Linked DNA regions of Homo sapiens: all the other regions are linked to region 1. The links are contacts of gene promoters, found by promoter capture Hi-C in human tissues and cell types (Jung and others, 2019). All regions are on one chromosome and are shown on one strand. Each heading gives the region's core, a stretch centred on a gene start or on the middle of the fragment in contact. The rest is flanking DNA. Distances are from core to core; before and after follow the strand shown. Region 1 holds the start of DARS2 (aspartyl-tRNA synthetase 2, mitochondrial). Region 2 overlaps LOC100506023 (a long non-coding RNA gene). Region 3 has its middle 23 kb from the start of TNFSF4.

Evidence for each region. Contacts are between HindIII fragments. The study calls those that stand out against the background at their distance.
Region 2: a fragment that was not itself captured here is called in contact with the fragment with the promoter of DARS2 in region 1 in 1 of the 25 tissues and cell types used here (spleen).
Region 3: a contact is called between a fragment that was not itself captured here and the fragment with the promoter of DARS2 in region 1, in 1 of the 25 tissues and cell types used here (mesenchymal stem cells).

The regions. Positions count from the first base shown.
Region 1 is chr1:173,823,208-173,826,198 of GRCh38, forward strand. It overlaps DARS2 (aspartyl-tRNA synthetase 2, mitochondrial), which reads left to right and starts at 1,466. Exons shown (of 17, transcript NM_018122.5): 1 at 1,466-2,149. The coding sequence starts at 2,023. It overlaps CENPL (centromere protein L), which reads right to left and starts at 1,676. Exons shown (of 6, transcript NM_001387287.1): 1 at 1,005-1,676; 2 at 719-812. RefSeq lists enhancers at 953-1,192, 1,170-1,688, 1,423-1,982, 1,689-2,206, 2,848-2,991. The HindIII fragment of the contact is 1,671 bases long and covers 929-2,599 here.
Region 2 is chr1:173,274,523-173,277,340 of GRCh38, forward strand. The region is part of intron 2 of LOC100506023 (a long non-coding RNA gene); the gene reads right to left. It also overlaps a transcript of TNFSF4 not described here. Among named protein-coding and RNA genes, the nearest start is that of TNFSF4, 69 kb to the left of the region's middle. The HindIII fragment of the contact is 6,274 bases long and covers 1-2,818 here.
Region 3 is chr1:173,229,042-173,232,225 of GRCh38, forward strand. It overlaps a transcript of TNFSF4 not described here. Among named protein-coding and RNA genes, the nearest start is that of TNFSF4, 23 kb to the left of the region's middle. The HindIII fragment of the contact is 3,707 bases long and covers 1-3,114 here.

The DNA.
Region 1 (2,991 bases), core at 216-2,715:
AGTTCCCACACATCTATATGAAGTCAAATCAGAATTCCTGTCTGGCTTTCAAGGCACTACTGTATTTGATCTTATTATCTGATCCTATCCAGGTTCATTTTCTACTACTTCAGTTCTTCCCCAAGATCCATCGACATTAGCCTTTCCAAAATCCAACATTCTGCATACACTTCCTCTAAGGTTTTGTATACAACATTGGGGGGTGGGGGGATGGGAGTGAAGAAAGTTCCAGTAGACAATTCTTTAAGAGGTTAAATGACAGCCCTATACCCAAACATGCACCCCCTACTCTAGACAGATGATCACTCTACTGTTCTCCCTGCCTTTTTATTCACCTTATCGCCAATTAAAAACACTTCTCTACTCCCGTTTGTCTCAGTAAATCTTATCCATTTTCCATGTGCCATCTCCTCAGAAGTTTTCCTGAGCTTGGCAGGGCTAGTTCTCTTGACAATTCCACTTGCAGTTGTGGTTCACAGCACACAAGTAAAGCTTTGTTGTTTCTCTTGTGATTAGTCCGTGAAGGGGCTCTGACTTGATCACTTTTCTACATTGCCACCAATACCTAAATCCAACCGCCCCAATGCCAATACTTAGCCAGTGTTAAGCACGTAGTGTTTAAACACACCTCAACACGCAAGTATTGTAAGATAATGACCACACAACAGGGCAAATACAAAGTTAAAGCAGGTCCGGGACCAATACAAAGCATCTTTACCAATAAAATGCCGTGATGACGCTGTCACCCATTCCGGATTCACGAATCATTCTTCAAAAGTCCGGCTCCAAAACTATGTGGAGACTGAAATCCCCTGAAGAAAAAAAAAAAAAACCGCCAAAATGACAGCTAAGACAGAGGCCAGACTAACCCCTGGCCCTCCCAAATTCCCTCTCGCTCCACAAGTGGGTTCACAAGAGACACAAACGCACCCAGGAAGACCTCCGCTCCCTCAGACGCGGGGCGGGCCCTGCGACTTCACTCTGGGAGGGACATTTCCGCTCACCCAGCTCTGCGACCCTCGCTCCTGCGGAGTCAGCTTCTGCTCGCGGAGGGGGAAGGGCAAAAGGACAGTGCGTCCCAACCCGTCCCTCTCCAGCTGAGCCTGTCAGAGACCAGCCCAGCTCTGAAATCAAGCCGTTGAGAAAAGGGAATTCGGCCCTCCGCCGCCTCTTCAGTTTAAAATCGTTTCCCGACTCGCTCTGCGGCCCCACGCAGGAAGCCTCCTTGGCGCCTCGCCGATTCCGTATCAGTGAAGCAACTAAAATTGCCATTTTAACTGAGGGCAAGGCCGAGCCACTTAACCACTATCGTCAACCTTTCCAATCGTGCTCGGTTGCTCCTCAGTTTTCCTACCGGTGCGAAGCTTTCTCTCAAATTTCCGCCCGTAGTAGGCATGGCGGCGGCACCTCACCACTGATTCGTTGAATTCCTTCCCGGTAATCTTGGGCACTAGCGGGCGGAGTTGAAGGGCGCTTGGACCCCAGCGGCGATCTGTGTTTGGGTTCGCGCTCTGGGAGAATTTTGGCTTTGCTCGCCTTCCTCTTTCAGAAGACTCGAAATCGGCCAGCAGGTCTGCGAGATTTGAAACGCGACTGTTACTCCTTGTTTTCCGGTTCTGGCCGCGGGAGCCTCTCGAGAAGCGTGGAAAGAGGAGAAGGGCGTATACCTTGTGACCGCCTCTGGTTGTCTTGGGCTCGCGCCTGGCGCCGCTACGTGGAGTCGCTCTCTCGTCGTCACTTTTGGCTGCCGACTTGTTGAGTAGAAGTGCAGACTGATGCTTTAAGACTCAGGGAGAGGTCTTTCCCTTATCTCCACCCCAGCAAGCACCCCAGAGACCTTGGAGATTTGTCTTGTTTCTAGACACGTGTACTCCAATGTTGTGCGGAGGAGGCCTTAAATATTCGAGAAGAGAGTGGGAACTCCTGGAATTTTAAGGGATTTCTGTGTATTTCCAAAACTGACTTTTAACTACCGGCAGCGTGGGATTTCGTGATTGTTTTTCGCCATCGTGTGGCTCCAACATGTACTTCCCTTCTTGGTTAAGTCAGCTGTACAGGGGTTTATCCAGACCCATCAGAAGGACCACCCAACCGATCTGGGGTTCTCTCTACAGAAGTCTGTTGCAGAGTTCACAGAGGAGAATTCCAGGTGAAAATAGCGAAGAGATCTATCCTATGAACAGTACTTCAGCCTGTTATCTACGGCCGGAGAGCTTTTATTCCATTTTTCATTTTTTCCCCCATTATTATTATTATTATTATTATTATTATTATTATTTGAGACGGAGTCTCGCTCTGCTGCCCAGGCTAGAGTGAAGTGGCGCGATCTCCGCTCACTGCAAGCTCCGCCTCCCGGGTTCACGCCATTCTCCTGCCTCAGCCTCCCGAGTAGCTGGGACTACAGGCGCCCGCGACCACGCCCGGCTAATTTTTCTGTATTTTTGGTAGAGCCGGGGTTTCACTGTGTTAGCCAGGATGGTCTCGATCTCCTGACCTCGTGATCCACCCGCCTCCGCCTCCCATAGTGCTGGGATTACAGGCGTGAGCCACCGCGCCCGGCTTTTCCCCTGTTCTTAACTGGATAGCCTTATGTGTAGAAGCGAAATTCACTCTCATTATATTCATTATACGGCAGTTTTTTTTCCCTGAGTTTTTAGAAAGACCACAAAAAGGTAACCACGTAATATATAGAATACTCTGCTTTTGGTTGATGCCTTAAAAAAATCCTTCTTCGGCCGGGCGCGGTGGCTCACGTCGTTAATCCCAGCACTTTGGGAGGTCGAGGAGGGCGGATCACGAGGTCAGGAGATCGAGACCATCCTGGCTAACACGGTGAAACCCCGTCTCTACTAAAAATAAAAAAAAAATTAGCCGGGCGTGGTGGCGGGCGCCTGTAGTCCCCGCTGCTGGGGAGGCCGAGGCAGGAGAATGGCGTGAACCTCGGAGGCGGAGCTTGCAGTGAGCCGAGATCGCGCCACTGCACTCCAGCCT
Region 2 (2,818 bases), core at 294-2,793, 550 kb before region 1:
TCCCACTGTGTACACACCCTGCACAATCCCCAAAACTGTGGATGTGATAGATTCCCTGATTCTATTACCTTACTATAGGGACATTATCCAGGTGGATCTTACCTAACCACATGAGCCCTTTAAAAGCAGAGCGTTTTCTCCAGCTGATCCCAGAAAAAGAATTCAGAGATTCAAATGTTACACAGCAATAGAAAATTAATACAGTAAGAATTCACTCTCTTGAAAGCATTGTATGAGGTAACTATATTCATTTTCTCACCAGCACCAAATGTTAAATATGTTTTTAAATTCAGTCAATTTGATAAGTAAAAAAGAGTACCTTATTTTTGATACATGTTTAATAAAGAGTATCTTTATTTTGCATGTCTCACTAAAATCAAGAAACTTTCCATATGTTTTTAGTTAGATTTCCCCTGAGTTAATTGCCTGTTCACATGCAGTACTTTGCTTTGACTATTTTGCTATAGCGTCATTTGTGTAACTCTTGTCAAGGGCTTAAGCAATCTCTAAGCAACAGCATAGGTGCTAAGCTGACTTGCTGCCCTTTCAAAATTTAGTTGGAAAGGAAACAACAAGCCCAAACTGATTTGGACCATTTTTACTCATGGCAGAGCATGCAGCACAAGCTCCGTGTTCTCTATATGTCCCTTTGTCCCTAAGTCCCATCAGGGAAGGGAACGACACAGAACAGGCCTGGGCAGATCCTGCACACACATCCATGTCCCATCCCAGATGAGGAACCCTGAGCTTAGGAAACTTCCCATCTTTTAAGTGGCTGCAAGCAAACCTGCCCAAACTTTGCTCCACAGAGAGAAACTATATTATCTTTTTCAAGAAACAAATCTACTGTCTGACCTGGAGAGAGATACCATCTCTAGCTCCCAAGCCTCTGTGCTCTATACAAACATCCTGGAAAAGATAGTCTGGAACTAAAGCTGTCATAAGATGTGTAAAAACACCAAGGTGAATTGCCTCTGAACAAATCCACCTCTCATTTCCACATTTTTGTGATTACAACACTCTGTTGGCCATTCAAAATAATCTGACCAACAGCAGGTGAGACCACTTCTGTTCAATTTGTAAGCACTTGCAGATCTCTTATTACCAGTGTTTTCTGGGAGAGAGGGAAGTTAATGCCGGCTTTCACACAATTATAATCCCAAAGGAAAACATGGAACCCCTGGGGGAAAAAAAGTTGTTGACAATGTTTAGAGTTTCCCCACCATGGGACACACATCAGTCAGCAGCCCAGGTTGACAGAGGCTTTGGGGTTTAATCCCAGGAATGTAAGAATGGGTTATCTGTAATTTATTAAGATAACATACCACATCATGTATCATAATAACAGCTAACACTATATGACACTATTCTAGTAGCTTAACATATTTAGCCCTTTAAAACTTCCCAATAGTGTGGTTGGTATGAGTGCCATTACATTAAATAAGAAAAACAATAAAAGCATCTTAACTGGTTGCCGTCAAAAAGAAATTCAATCAAATGAAAACCATTGCTTTAGTTAAATGAACTCTTTAAAAATGTGTAATAGATGTTTCCTTAACATGAAAAAGAATATCAATATCGACAACCAACATCATACCTAAGAATGAAAAACTAAAGATAATTATGTTAAACCTACACAAAAGAGAGACAAACAACAGAGAAGACCGGTGACATTGTTTTATGAAACAATTCTCAATACAGATTTACAGAAAGATTAATCCAAATTAAGCCTGTTTCTGTAATGCCACTGCCCAGTGAGTGCAATTTTTCATGAGGAAGACACTCTCTAAGCTATAGGCTTCAGACTTCTCCTAACTATCCTCTTCCTTCTCCTCTCCACCTCTACCACACAGTCTCAGAGTGTACACAGTTGTTCCCAGTTTCCCATGATTGGGAAGGACTCAAACACTATGATGGCAGGTCAACTTTCTGTCATCTTGTCCAAGGGAAAAGCACACTAAGCTGGGAGTGAATGAGCCTGACCTAAACAGCAGCAGAGAGAATGAGTAGAGAAAGGAGCCACTGAGTTGGAGGCCTTAGAGCCACAGGAAAGGAGCTGAAGTCTAGCCCAGTGGCATTGCTGGTTAGCTCCTGTGGCCATGATTAATTTACGAGCTCAACTTTGTGGGAGTTTTCTATTTGACATTTCAAATTTGCAAGAAATTTGACTAAGTACTATTGAGAAGAAAATTAACATTTGCCTGAATTTTAGAAAGGGAGATTAGAACAGGCCACTGGGCTAATCGCAGGTAGGATGATGGGGAGAACTTGCCTGTGTCTGTCCTCTTCAACCCAAGAACCAGGCTCTTCAGCCATCACAGCGGGCTCAACATGGCTGCTTTATTATCTGCAGCTCAATGTACATATGATATCTAACTAACAGTGATGCTGTGATAGAATTTTCATTTCCGAGGGCAGTATTTCTCTTCCCTTCATACAAGTACACAAAATTACACTTTCTAAAAATGAGAAAAGCCTGAGTTCTTCAGAACAAGTCAGCCATAATAATAATGCTTCAGATGTTCCAGGTGTCTGTAAGGCCAGCAGTTAGAGTGAAACCTTCTCTTTGAACCCATTCAACCAGGGTGAAACTCTGCCAGTAGTAAAAAAGAAAGCAGCACGTGGTTTCATGGTATTCACCCTACCACCTTCCATAGTGAGGAGACAGAAACCTGTCTGGGGTGAAGACCATGGGAAAATGTGTAGCTGTTATTATTTGTCATGAAGGTAACTATTCAGGATCTGTTCTGTTCAACCAGCTTCTGATGACTTGGCCAGGAAAATAAAGAAAGAGACCTAAATACAGCATTGAGGGAAA
Region 3 (3,184 bases), core at 11-2,510, 590 kb before region 1:
AAGGCAGACCAACAATCAAATTCAGGAAATACAGAGAACACCGCAAAGATACTCCTCAAGAAGAGCAACCCTAAGACACATAATTGTCAGATTCACCAAGGTTGAAATGAAGGAAAAAATGTTAAGGGCAGCAAGACAAAGAAAGGTCAAGTTACCCACAAAGGGAAGCCCATCAGACTAACAGCGGATCTCTCAGCAGAAACAATACAAGCCAGAAGAGAGTGGGGGCCAATATTCAACATTCTTAAAGAAAGGAATTTTCAACCCAGAATTTCATATCCAGCCAAACTAAGCTTCATAAGTGAAGGAGAAATAAAATCCTTTACAGACAAGCAAGTGCTGAGAGATTTTGTCAGAACCAGGCCTGCCCGAAAAGAGCTCCTGAAGGAAGCACTAAACATGGAAAGGAACAACCAGTACCAGACACTGCAAAAACATGCCAAATTGTAAAGACCATCGATGCTAGGAAGAAATCACATCAACTAATGAGCAAAATAACCAGCTAACATCATAGTGACAGGATCAAATCCACACATAACAATATTAACCTTAAATGTAAATGGGCTAAATGCTCCAATTAAAAGACACAGACTGGCAAATTGGATAAAGAGTCAAGACCCATCAGTGTGCTGTATTCAGGAGACCCATCTCACATGCAGAGACACACATAGGTTCAAAATAAAGGGATGGAGGAAGATCTACCAAGCAAATGGAAAACAAAAAAAGGCAGGGGTTGCAATCCTAGTCTCTGATACAACAGACTTTAAACCGACAAAGATCAAAAGAGACAAAGAAGGCCATTGCATAATGGTAAAGGGATCAATTCAACAAGAAGAGCTAACTATCTTAAATATATATGCACCCAATACAGGACCACCCAGATTCATAAAGCAAGTCCTTAGAGACCTACAAAGAGACTTAGACTCCCAAACAATAATAATGGGAGACGTTAACACCCCACTGTCAACATTAGACAGGTCAACAAGACAGAAAGTTGACAAGGATATCCACGAATTGAAATCAGCTCTGCACCAAGAAGACCCAATAGACATCTACAGAACTCTCCACCCCAAATCAACAGAATGCACATTCTTCTCAGCACCACACCACACTTATTCCAAAATTGACCACGTAGTTGGAAGTAAAGCACTCCTCAGCAAATGTAAAAGAACAGAAATTATAACAGTCTCTCAGACCACAGTGCAATCAAATTAGAACTCAGGATTAAGAAACTCACTCAAAACAGCTCAACTACATGTAAACTGAACAACCTGCTCCTGAATGACTACTGGGTACATAACAAAATGAAGGCAGAAATAAAGATGTTCTTTGAAACCAATGAGAACAAAGACACAACATACCAGAATCTCTGGGACACATTCAAAGCAGTGTGTAGAGGGAAATTTATAGCACTAAATGCTCACAAGAGAAAGCAGGAAAGATCTAAAATTGACACCCTAACATCACAATTAAAAGAACTAGAGAAGCAAGAGCAAACACATTCAAAAGCTAGCAGAAGACAAGAAATAACTAAGATCAGAGCAGCATTGAAGGAGATAGAGACACAACACCCTTCAAAAAAATCAATGAATCTAGGAGCTGGTTTTTTGAAAAGATCAACAAAATTGACAGACCACTAGCAAGACTAATAAAGAAGAAAAGAGAGAAGAATCAAATAGACACAATAAAAAATGATAAAGGGGACATCACCACCAATCCCACAGAAATACAAACTACCTTCAGAGAATACTATAAAATACCTAAATACTAGACACCTCTACGCAAATAAACTAGAAAATCTAGAAGAAATGGATAAATTCCTGGACACATACACCCTCCAAAGACTAAACCAGGAAGAAGTTGAATCCCTGAATGGACCTATAACAGGCTCTGAAATTGAGGCAATAATCAATAGCCTACCAACCAAAAAAAGCCCAGCACCAGATGGATTCACAGCTGAATTCTACCAGAGGTACAAGGATGAGCTGGTACCATTCCTTCTAAAACTATTCCAGTCAATAGAAAAAGAGGGAATCCTCCCTAACTCACTTTATGAGGCCAGCATCATCCTGATACCAAAGCTTGGCAGAGACACAACAAAAAAAGAGAATTTTAGACCAATATCCCTGATGAACATCGATGCAGAAATCCTCAGTAAATTACTGGCAAACCGAATCCAGCAGCATATCAAAGAGCTTATCCACCATGATCAAGTGGGCTTCACCCCTGGGATGCAAGGCTGGTTCAACATACACAAATCAATAAACATATTCCAGCATATAAACAGAACCAAAGGCAAAAACCACATGATTATCTCAATAGATGCAGAAAAGGCCTTTGACAAAATTCAATAGCCCTTCATGCTAAAAACTCTCAATAAATTAGGTATTGATGGAATGTATCTCAAAATAATAATAGCTATTTATGACAAACCCACAGTCAATATCATACTGAATGGGCAAAAACTGGAAGCATTTCCTTTGAAAAGTGGCACAAGACAGGGATGCCCTCTCTCACCACTCCTATTCAACGTAGTGTTGGAAGTCCTGGCTTGGGCAATAAGGCAGGACAAATAAATAAAAGGAATTTTATTTATTTGGAATATTTATTAGGAAAAGAGGAAGTCAAATTGTCCCTCTTTGCCGATGACATGATTGTATATTTAGAAAACCCCATCATCTCAGCCCAAAATCTACTTAGGCTGATAAGCAAATTCAGCAAAGTCTCAGGACACAATATCAATGTACAAAAATCACAAGCATTCTTATACACCAATAACAGACAATCAGAGAGCCAAATCATGAGTGAACTCCCATTCACAATTGCTTCAAAGAGAATAAAATAAAGTACTTTATAGTGTGATGCCTCCAGCTTTGTTCTTTTGGCTTAGGATTGACTGGGCGATGTGGGCTCTTTTTTGGTTCCATATGAACTTTAAAGTAGTTTTTTCCAATTCTGTGAAGAAAGTCATTGGTAGCTTGATGGGGATGGCATTGAATCTATAAATTACCCTGGGCAGTATGGCCATTTTCATGATATTAATTCTTCCTATCCATGAGGATGGAATGTTCTTCCGTTTGCTTGTGTCCTCTTTTACTTCGTTGAGCAGTGGTTTGTAGTTCTCCTAGAAGAGGTCCTTCGTGTCCCTTGTAAGTTGGATTCCTAGGTATTTTATTCTCTTTGA